Linked DNA regions of Homo sapiens: all the other regions are linked to region 2. Evidence: promoter capture Hi-C in human tissues and cell types (Jung and others, 2019). All regions are on one chromosome and are shown on one strand. The core of a region is centred on a gene start or on the middle of the fragment in contact, and the rest is flanking DNA. Distances in the headings are between cores, read along the strand shown.

Evidence for each region. Contacts are between HindIII fragments. The study calls those that stand out against the background at their distance.
Region 1: a contact is called between a fragment that was not itself captured here and the fragment with the promoter of PTX4 in region 2, in 3 of the 25 tissues and cell types used here (dorsolateral prefrontal cortex, mesenchymal stem cells and spleen).
Region 3: a contact is called between the fragment with the promoter of TPSD1 here and the fragment with the promoter of PTX4 in region 2, in 1 of the 25 tissues and cell types used here (spleen).

The regions. Positions count from the first base shown.
Region 1 is chr16:1,639,141-1,642,311 of GRCh38, forward strand. CRAMP1 (cramped chromatin regulator 1) reads left to right here. Exons shown (of 21, transcript NM_020825.4): 6 at 1,999-2,047. Among named protein-coding and RNA genes, the nearest start is that of CRAMP1, 28 kb to the left of the region's middle. The HindIII fragment of the contact is 5,606 bases long and covers 1-3,171 here.
Region 2 is chr16:1,487,383-1,490,722 of GRCh38, forward strand. PTX4 (pentraxin 4) reads right to left here and starts at 1,562. Exons shown (of 3, transcript NM_001328608.2): 1 at 1,387-1,562; 2 at 1-588. The coding sequence starts at 1,527. The HindIII fragment of the contact is 5,905 bases long and covers 931-3,340 here.
Region 3 is chr16:1,254,730-1,258,216 of GRCh38, forward strand. It overlaps TPSD1 (tryptase delta 1), which reads left to right and starts at 1,340. Exons shown (of 5, transcript NM_012217.3): 1 at 1,340-1,633; 2 at 1,787-1,958; 3 at 2,068-2,333; 4 at 3,330-3,487. The coding sequence starts at 1,552. The HindIII fragment of the contact is 12,300 bases long and covers 1-3,487 here.

The DNA of each region.
Region 1 (3,171 bases), core at 39-2,538, 150 kb after region 2:
TCCCACTCCTTGTTGCCTGGTCCTTTTGCACCACTGCTTGTTCTGGTTTCCTCCCTAGAAGCTTCTGAGAGGTGGAGGGTGTCCAGGTTCTTGGCATTTCGAACAAAGAATTGTACAAAATGCACAAACAAAGCAAGGGAAGAATGAAGCAACAAAAGCAGAGATTTATTGAAAACCAAAGTACACTCCACAGGGTGGGAGTGGGCCCGGACGTAGGGGCTCAAGAGCCCTTTTACAGAAGTTTCCCCCTCTAGAGGGGGAAACCTCTAGAGGTTTCCCATTGGCTGCTTGGTGTACACCCTATGTAAATGAAGTAGTGGCCAGCAATCAGAGACTGAAGTGAGGTTACAAAGGTTACACTCTATGCAAGCATCTGATTGGTTGTGGAAAACAACCAATCAGAAGCTAAACTGGTTACAAAGTTACACTTCTTTGCAAAGGAAGACTTGGCCCCAGTCTTGGGGAAGACTTTTTAGACTTTTTCAAACCTAGCAGAAGCAACCAGTCAGGCTGAAGTGAAGTTCCAAAGTTGTACTCCTATGTAAATGTCCGATTGCTTTCTGCTTTCTGCAACCAATCAGAGATACTTTCAATTTCCCATCTGCCATGAAGAAAGAAGGGGAGGGGGCGTTGCAAAGGGAATAGCGTGTCTGGTCCGTTTGTTACTTAGGTGTGGAAAGTTGGGGTTTTCCTTTTGATTTAGTTCTAGGAAGTCAGCGTGAATTGGCCTTAGGTTCCCTACCTCTAGACCCTATTCTCCTGCCTCATGAGGATGCTCAAGTTTGATGAAAATAAATGACTTGATTGCTGAGTGAGGGGCACACTGCTCCCAGGCTTCCAACCCTTCATCCGGGAGCAGGAGAGGTGGGGCACGGTGACCCTGTGGCATGCCATGCCTGGCCGGTTTCCGCAACCGGTTCCTTTCTTGGTGCCTCGCCTGGCGACAAGAGCCCTTTCCGGTGCTTTTCATTCCTTCCTGAAGTTCCGTTTCCATCTGGCTTTGTTTCCTTTCTTTCTGAAAAACCTCCTGTATTTTTTTCCGTGCAGTTGTGCCGGCTGTGAATTCTTAGTTATTATTAATCTGAAAATTCTTTATTTCATCTTCATTCTTAAAAGATGTATTTGCCGGATAGAGAATTCTGATCTGACGGGTTCATTCTTTCATCACATTGACACCGTTGTCTGCTGCCTCTTGGCCTGTGCTGCTCTGATGAGAGGGGTCAGTGGTCATCTATGCCCTCATTCCTCCGTGCGAGGTGCATTGTCTGTCTGTGGCTGCTTTGACAATTTTGTCTTTGGTTTTGGTTTTCAGCCTGGTCGTTCGTTTGTGGAGTTTTTTTCCCTAAAACATGCAGAAGAATTCAAAGAATTTTACAGTGAACAGCCAAGTACCCAGCACCTAGTCTCTCCCGTTAACGTACTGTAGCTGCTTTCTTGCACATCTTGAAGATAGTGAAGAGTCCCGAGCAGGTCACAGGAAATGGGGCGTCTGCTCCAGGAAACTCAGAGGGTGTCGGAGTCTTCATTCTGTGGACCCTGGGTGCCTTGGGGGTTCCACACTGTGGGCCGGAAGGTCAACACCGGACACTGTCAGTACGAGCCCAGCAGGAAGTGTGCGTGGGCAGGTGTGGTGCCTGCAGGAAGCAGCTGTTGAGCCAGGCAGATAGGGATGAGTGGAAGGCCGGCGCTGGGGGACCTAGGAGGGAGCTCTTGGGAGGACAGATCAACTGGTCAGAGGCTGGGTAGTGGGCCTGCCTGAGGAGGGGGCCAGGCAGGGGCGTGCCAGGCTTTCAGGTGAGCGGGGGCGACCAGGGCAGCTGACTCGAAGGTGTGACTTTGAGGGAGGGGCTGCAGCTACTGTAGGGCTTTTATTCCAGAGGAACTTTAATATTCGGTAATGGGATTTGAGTCTATATTGAGCGGAATTGTATGGGAATCTTCAGTGGCTTTGCTCCTAACTACATTGTGGTCTCATTTATTTATTTTTTCCATTTAAAGGTATGGATGACAAGAATGCAACAAAGCTGAATGAACTCATTCAGGTTGGGTAAGTCCCAGTTTCCATGTGAAACATCACTTCTCTGGGTGTTTTGTGTTTATTCTCTAAAATACAGAAGCTGAAATGCTCTCAGTGAGGACCTTCCGAGTTAAAACTTCATAACCTCTCAGTTACGTGTTCAGTCCCAACAAAAGGTGCTTGGTCCAGGGAGCAGTGACTGCGCCCAGAGCCTGTGCCTGCCCCGGGGAGGGAAGGAAGTGCCGTCTTTGGCCTCCTCCTTCCCGAGGGTCTCTGGCTGGGCGTTGTGGTCTCGACGCAGCACTCAGGGCCCTGCTTTTTGTGCTCCTTTTCCTCCACCTTTGTGCCTGCTGTGGGGCTGGTCCCCGGCTTCTAGGGCCTCTCCTTTCCATTGCATTTTTGTCGTGTCCTGGGCCACTTCTGACAGCTTCCCTGCCTTCTTGTGCCCTGGATGCTTCTGTCTCCAACTGGCCGCTCTCCTCCCCTCACACACCTGACTCCCAGAGGGCACATGCTCTCCTGGCCACACAAACAACCGGGCCCCTGATGGTCCAGTTGACATCTGCCCAGTTGCTGCTGTTGGGCTGCACTTCAGGGCAGGGCCCCGCCACCCTACTCCACAGCCTGGGGGTTCCCTGCTTTACAGCTTGGGGAAGGTCCCCACGCCACAGCCTGGGGGGGTTCCCCACTCCGCAGCCTGGGGGTCTCCACTCCGCAGCCTGGGGGGTCCCCACTCTGGAGCCTGGGGGGGGGTCCCCGTTCCACAGCCTGGGGGTTCCCAGTGCACAGCCTGGTGGGGTTCTGTGCATGTACATTTCTCACCTGGTGTGGGTCCTCATGGGTAGCCATCCCATCTTACATCCATCCCGCCCACTGACCACACCAGAGCTATCCCGGCAGCCTGGCTGACTGCTCTCAGTTCACTGAACCACAGATATTGGGTCTGCACAACCAGCCCCGATCCTTGTGGGTATGCCACCCGCACCCAAGAGCCCTGCCCTTGCAGCCACTCCTGAACAGTCCTTACCCATCTCTCTTCCGTCCATAGCACTTCACCCTTGGACCTCTGGTTGCTTTTCCCCTTGGCCCTTCTCCCCCAGGCTTGTGTCTGATGACCTGGGAACCCTCCCTGCCCCAGTGGGAGCAGTGCCTGC
Region 2 (3,340 bases), core at 312-2,811:
CCGATGGCTGCCTGAGGCTGGAGGCTCCCGCCTCCCTTGGAGAGGGGCCGAGGAGTCCTGTGGGGGGCCCCTGTGCTCAGAGGCAGCTCGGAGCTCCTGCCTGTCCCTCTGAAGCTTCAGGGAGGTCGGGCCCAGCTCCTCAGGCTGGGTTGGGGTTGGGACCAGGGCCGGCCCGAGGGCTGCAGTGCCAGGGTGGGCCACGGGCAGCCGCCCCTCCAGAGCAGCCAGCCTGGCGCCCTGGCTGTGGACGAGGCCCTCCAGGCGTGCCAGTGAGTCCTGCAGGGCGTCCCTCTGGGCCTTGTGTGCCTTCCTTTCCCGGGCCCGCTGCTGGCTCCTCTCGCCCAGGGTGAGGTCCAAGGCCCGCAGCCGCGTGTCTACTTTCCGGCCTCGGCGCTGCAGCTTCCTCACCCAGGCCTTGAGCTGCGCCAGCTCCCCCTGCACCGAGGCCTGTGACCGGTTGACTGCCTGAGCCACAGCCTGGCTCTCTTCCGCCAGGCTCCGGAACCGGACGTCAACGTTGTAGGACACGTTGTAGTTGCTGGCGATGTTCTGCAGGTGTGTCCAGGTCACCTCCTGGAATCTCCGGAACTGTAAGGAGGACACGGTGATGATGGGGCGGGCCGGGCCGGGCCGGCTGGGCGGGACGGGAAAGGCTTTGCCCTCTCAAGTTGGGAGCAGCGGCCGCGTGCCCGGGCCACGGCCAGCACTGGCTATCTGCCCACCGATTTGATCCCCACTGCGATGCCGTGAGATGTGGTGGGTGCCAGGGACTGACCCCAGGCCATGCAGCTGCACCACGTGGGGTGTGGACTCCAGGCCCACAGCTGGGGCTCTGATCCCCACCGCTCACCCCATAACCACCGGCAAGTCACTTTCCCTCGTGATTCCAGCTCCTGCCTGTGAGCAGGGGACGGCAGGGTGGCCTCATGAGTGCTTTACGAGGCCCAAACAGGAAGCACCCAGCGCAGGCCCGACAGGCCCACAGCACTCCGGAACTGTCCGTGGACCCCGCGTGGGAGTCCGGGAGGCCGTTCACACCGACTGCCACAAGGTGGACCTGTGACCTCCCAGTTTCCACTCCCCATGACACTACCCGGCCCCCATGGCCCCCAGTTCCCCTGACTCCCTTCCAGACCCCCTTCTAGCCTCTGGCCCCACCTGACCCCCACATGTTATGAGGCTTGTGTCCTGTGTGAGTGGAGCCCAGCTCAGCTCTTCCCTGGTGTCCAACTGCAGGTGAAATAATCTTCATGGATGGAAAGAGCGTCACACGCGGTGTTCGTGTCCGCCAAGCCCTGATGTTTACCAATCTGCTTCTGTAACATCCGTCTTCCATCTGCTGCCAATTTAAAAACCCGACTGCGCCATGTCAGGGGTATAACTTGCCTGTTCCTCCAGCCTACGGAGCCTCTCGAAAAACGGTTTCCTGGGCCCCACTGGGGCGGCTTCCTGCGATGAAGCCCCATGTAGATATATAGGCACAAAAACAAGGAAGAAAGACAAGGTCTTCCTCCACGAGCAACCCATCCGGAGAGACGGCAAGGCCCCAGCAGTCTCCCTCCAGCCGCAGGAGAGGGTGAAGGTGGCTCCGTGGGTCTGTCTTGTGTCTCGTCCCCCCAGCTCTCCTGTTGAGTGGTTTTCCTTCTTTGGCCCTGGCTGGATGTCAGGTTCTTCCTGCCGCCTCCATGAAAGGCATCTGCCTTCAAGCCAGTGGGCTCTGAGACTTGCAGGTTCCTAAGGAGACAAGCTTAAAACAGATGCAAACAGTTTCTTTGAAGAATCATTCAGCTGGGTGCAAGCCCGCGGGCAGGAGGCGATGGCTTTAACAGGAGCACATGGACTTGTGCTCCCGAGAAGTCGAAGCAAGACAGGGAACCCGACGGGGGCTGGGGAGTCAACAGAGCCAGGTCTGCACAGGCACCCATCACCCAGGCCGTGCACGGCTGCATCCTGGGAGGCCCCGTCTCTCTCAGTAAAGCAATGGAAATGTGACTGGGAGCCACCTTAATTAATTAATTATTATTATTATTTGAGATGGAGTCTCGTTCTGTTGCCTAGGCTAGAGTGCAATGGCGCAATCTCAGCTCACTGCAACCTCTGCCTCCCCGGCTCAAGCGATTCTCCTTCCTCAGCCTCCTGCCTCCTGAGGAGCTGGGATTACAGGCGTGCTTTACCATGCCCGGCTAATTTTAGTATTTTTAGTAGAGATGGGGTTTCACTATGTTGGTCAGGCTGGTCTCAAACTTCTGACCTCATGATTTGCCTGCCTCAGCCTCCCTAAGTGTTCGGATTACAGGCATGAGCCACTGCGCCTGGCCAATTAATTAATTTTTTTGACGGAGTCTTGCTCTGTCACCCAGGCTGGAGTGCAGTGGTGCGATCTCCGCTCACCACAAGCTCCGCCTCCTGGGTTTAACGGATTCTCCTGTCTCAGCCTCCCAAGTAGCTGGGATTACAGGTATGTGCCCCCACATCCGGCTAATTTTTGTATTTTTAGTAGAGACGGGGTTTCACCATGTGGGCCAGGCTGGTCTCAAACTCCCGACCTCAGGTGATCCACCCGCTGTAGCCTCCCGAAATGCTGGGATTACAGGCATGAGCCACCGCGCCCGGCCAATTTTTGTATTTGTAGTAGAGACGGGGTTGCCCCATGTGGGCCAGGCTGGTATTTTTGGTTACAGGTTGTGTACTGGCTTGAATGAGACCCTCCTAAAAACACACATAAGCCCCAGGCAGGGCCTTATGTGGAAAAGGTCTCTGCGGATGTCATGAAGGATTTTGAGATGAGACCATCCTGGATTATCCAGGTGGCCCTAAAGCCAATGACAGGGGTACAAGAGACAGAGGAGGAGGCACAGAGGACACGGCCTGTGAAGATGGGGCAGAGACTGGGGTGACGCTGCCACGAGGAACCCCCAGAGGCCCCAGAAGCTGGAAGAGGTAAAGTGGGAACCCCCAGCCCAGAGCCTTCGAGGGAGTGTGCACCTTCACTTCAAGACTTCCAGCCCCCAGAACTGTGATAGGACTCATTTCTGTTGTTTCAAGCCGCCCAGCTCATGGGAATAAGATCATCCACAAAGTTGTCCCACTGGGGGCATCCATCATTCCCAAGGTGGCATGAGCCAAGAGGGTGCCAGGCCAGGAAACCATCGGTGGCCCCCAGGCTCCCCTTGTCAAGCGTCAGAACACCATGGACATGGAGAAGATGCAGAAAGCATCGGAGAGAACATCCTGGGCACATGGACGGGGTTGGGGCCTTAGGCCCCGGGGGACTGGCAGCCACCAGGACAGCGACGCTGGTGCCACACACAGAGCGGCGGATCTCGCAGCTTCCAACTGA
Region 3 (3,487 bases), core at 90-2,589, 230 kb before region 2:
GGGGCTCAGAAGCAGAGGAGGTGGGCTGGAGGCCCCAGTGACCAACAGGCCCAGGTGAGTCAGGAGGTGGGGTGGACGGAGCTGCAGGGACAGTGTCAGCGCTGAATGGGATGGAGAGCACAGGGAGCTGGGGCCGGGGGTGAGACCAAGGGGAGCTGGGCTGGGGCTGGGGGTGAGTCCATGGGGAGCTGGGGCCGGGGGCTGGGACTAGTCCATGGGGAGCTGGGCTGGGGCTGGGGGTGAGACCATGGGGAGCTGGGCTGGGGCTGGGACTAGTCCATGGGGAGCTGGGCTGGGGCTGGGACTAGTTCATGGGGAGCTGGGCTGGGGCTGGGGGTGAGTCCATGGGGAGCTGGGCTGGGGCTGGGGGTGAGTCCATGGGGAGCTGGACTGGGGCTGTGGGTGAGTCCATGGGGAGCTGGGGCTGGGGCTGGGACTACTCCATGGGGAGCTGGGGCTGGGGCTGGGACTAGTCCATGGGGAGCTGGGCTGGGGCTGTGGGTGAGTCCATGGGGAGCTGGGCTGGGGCTGGGGGTGAGTCCATGGGGAGCTGGGCTGGGTCTCCTGGGGTTGCACCTGCACTCCTGTCTGCCCTTCCCTCTGCGGATGAAGCTCAGATCCCATGATAAGAAGGCACCTGCAGACCAGGGGACCTGCACGGACAGCCCCAGAGGTGGACATTGAGGAATCGTTGGAGGACTTGGGTCTCATACGGGAGGTGGGGAGCAGGGCCCCTTCCTGGCTGAGGACACTTGGTGCTGTCCCCTCTCAAGGCTGTTTCCCCATCTGACAAAGGGGTCTCATGTGAGCCCCCAACCAAGTGAGTCGAGGAGGGCTGGCCCCACCCCCGTGGATTCGGAGTCCGTAGGAGGGGTGTCACCCGTCATGTCCCCACCCCGTGGGCACCTTCCCGTCTCTTGGAGGGTGGCCCATGGACATGAGTTCCTCACCCCGTGTCCCTCTTGGGGAAACAGGTTTCAGGAGCGACGGGTCTTGTAGCCTGGGGCAGCCAGGCCACCTGGGTGCAGCTATGCCTGAAGGCCTCCTGGCACCGAGACAGGGGCAGGAGCAGATCCCACCAGCGGGAAGGTGGTGGGTTCCAGTGCTGGGATCCACCAGCTGACAGGTGGAGCTGCGAGCCTCCAGTGCTCAGCCCTCGGCGGGGCCTGCCTGGCAGCCCCACACACAGAGGGCATCGGGGTGGCGGGGGCATGTGTTACACGGGGGCCCTGGGTCTGAGTCATCCACTTCCTCCGAGTCTGGATGGGAGGACCCAGCGCCCCTCCTCCGCCCCCTCCTGATCTGGAAGCATAAATGGGGAGGGGAGAGCCCGCTGGGTAGAAGGAACAGGGAGTGGCCAGGGTAAGTCCCTACTCTCAGAGACCCTGACATCAGCGTCACCTGGAGCAGAGTGGCCCAGCCTCAGACTCAGAGCACCAAGACCCAGGCCCGCAGGCCTGGACCCACCCCGGTCCCCCCGTCCCAGCTCCATTCTTCACCCCACAATCTGTAGCCCCCAGCCCTGCCCTGTGAGGCCCGGCCAGGCCCACGATGCTCCTCCTTGCTCCCCAGATGCTGAGCCTGCTGCTGCTGGCGCTGCCCGTCCTGGCGAGCCCGGCCTACGTGGCCCCTGGTGAGTCCCAGCCGGGGTCCACCCTGCCCCTCACCACATTCCACAGATCAGGGCCTGGGTGGGTTCTGGGGAGGCCGGGCTGGCCCCCACACAGGGAAGGGCTGGTCCCAGGCGTGGGGCGGCTTCTTGGTCCTGACCTGGCACCTGCCCCAGCCCCAGGCCAGGCCCTGCAGCAAACGGGCATTGTTGGGGGGCAGGAGGCCCCCAGGAGCAAGTGGCCCTGGCAGGTGAGCCTGAGAGTCCGCGGCCCATACTGGATGCACTTCTGCGGGGGCTCCCTCATCCACCCCCAGTGGGTGCTAACCGCGGCGCACTGCGTGGAACCGTGAGTCTCCTGGGGCCTGGAGGGGTGGGCAAGGGCTGGATGTGAGCCCTGGCTCCCGGGTGCTCCTGGGGGCTGCCCAGGGCCCTGAGTGGGATCCTCCGCTGCCCAGGGACATCAAGGATCTGGCCGCCCTCAGGGTGCAACTGCGGGAGCAGCACCTCTACTACCAGGACCAGCTGCTGCCGGTCAGCAGGATCATCGTGCACCCACAGTTCTACATCATCCAGACCGGGGCGGACATCGCCCTGCTGGAGCTGGAGGAGCCCGTGAACATCTCCAGCCACATCCACACGGTCACGCTGCCCCCTGCCTCGGAGACCTTCCCCCCGGGGATGCCGTGCTGGGTCACTGGCTGGGGCGACGTGGACAATAATGGTGGGTGTTGGGGACAGCGGGAGGCCGGGCCAGGTGGGCACCAAGTCACAGCCACAGGCCAGTCCGTGGGGTGACAGGGTCCCTCAGGGCGGCTCAGGGAGGGGGACTGTGGAGGCCAGGATGGATGGAGCAGGCGGTGGCGAGAGGCAGCAGGTGCCCTGAGCAGAGACGGTGAGTCCAAAGGGCCTGGGCGTCCCCCACCCCAGGGGTTTGGAGAGTCCCTTAGCACCTCCGTGCCTCGGTTTCCCCTTGCCTGAAAGGGTGCATCAAAAGTTTGTACGTCACGGACTTGCTATGTGGAGAGAGAAATCACACGGGGGTCTTGCTGGAAGGAGAGAGACCGGTGCTGGGATGAGACCTGCCTGCCCTCCATCCCTGTGCTACAGACAAGGCAGGGGCCTGGGAATCGGGGTCGTGGCAGTGCTGTGGGGGGCTGGACGAAGCTCACTGTGGCCCTCCACGAGGCACATTTTCACTTCTAGAAGGTCTTGTCCCCATTTTATCCACAATTCAGAGCAAAGCTTTGGGGTACAGCCTGAGCGGCAACCCTGGGCTGTGACCTCTGGGTCACTCAGAAGGGGCCTGAGCCACTGTCCCGCTATTCCGCCCCACACAGCGGGGAAGCTGAGCCCAGCGCCCTGTGTTCCCCTCGGCTAGGGCCAACCGTGGACCATGGGCCTAGCCCAGACGAAAGTCAGCTGAGCCCAGGGGGAGACACGGGTCGGGCTCTGCACCCCCGTGCCATGGAGCCCAGCTTGGCAACCTCCAGGGCCCTCCCCTCCCTTCCCCAGATGGGGCTTAAATGAGGCCAGGGACCCAGGACCAGCCTCAGCGGAGGGGCCTGGACTGCATTCACCGCCCCTTCCCCGGGGCTGCAGGCACAGAACAGCACTGGGCCCATGGTGCCATCTCCCCTGCCCGTGACTCTGCCACCAAGTCCACGAAGCAGCACCCAGCCGGCCCCAGACCCGGCTCCACGCCCCCCTCCGCCCCCAGTGCACCTGCCGCCGCCATACCCGCTGAAGGAGGTGGAAGTCCCCGTAGTGGAAAACCACCTTTGCAACGCGGAATATCACACCGGCCTCCATACGGGCCACAGCTTTCAAATCGTCCGCGATGACATGCTGTGTGCGGGGAGCGAAAATCACGACTCC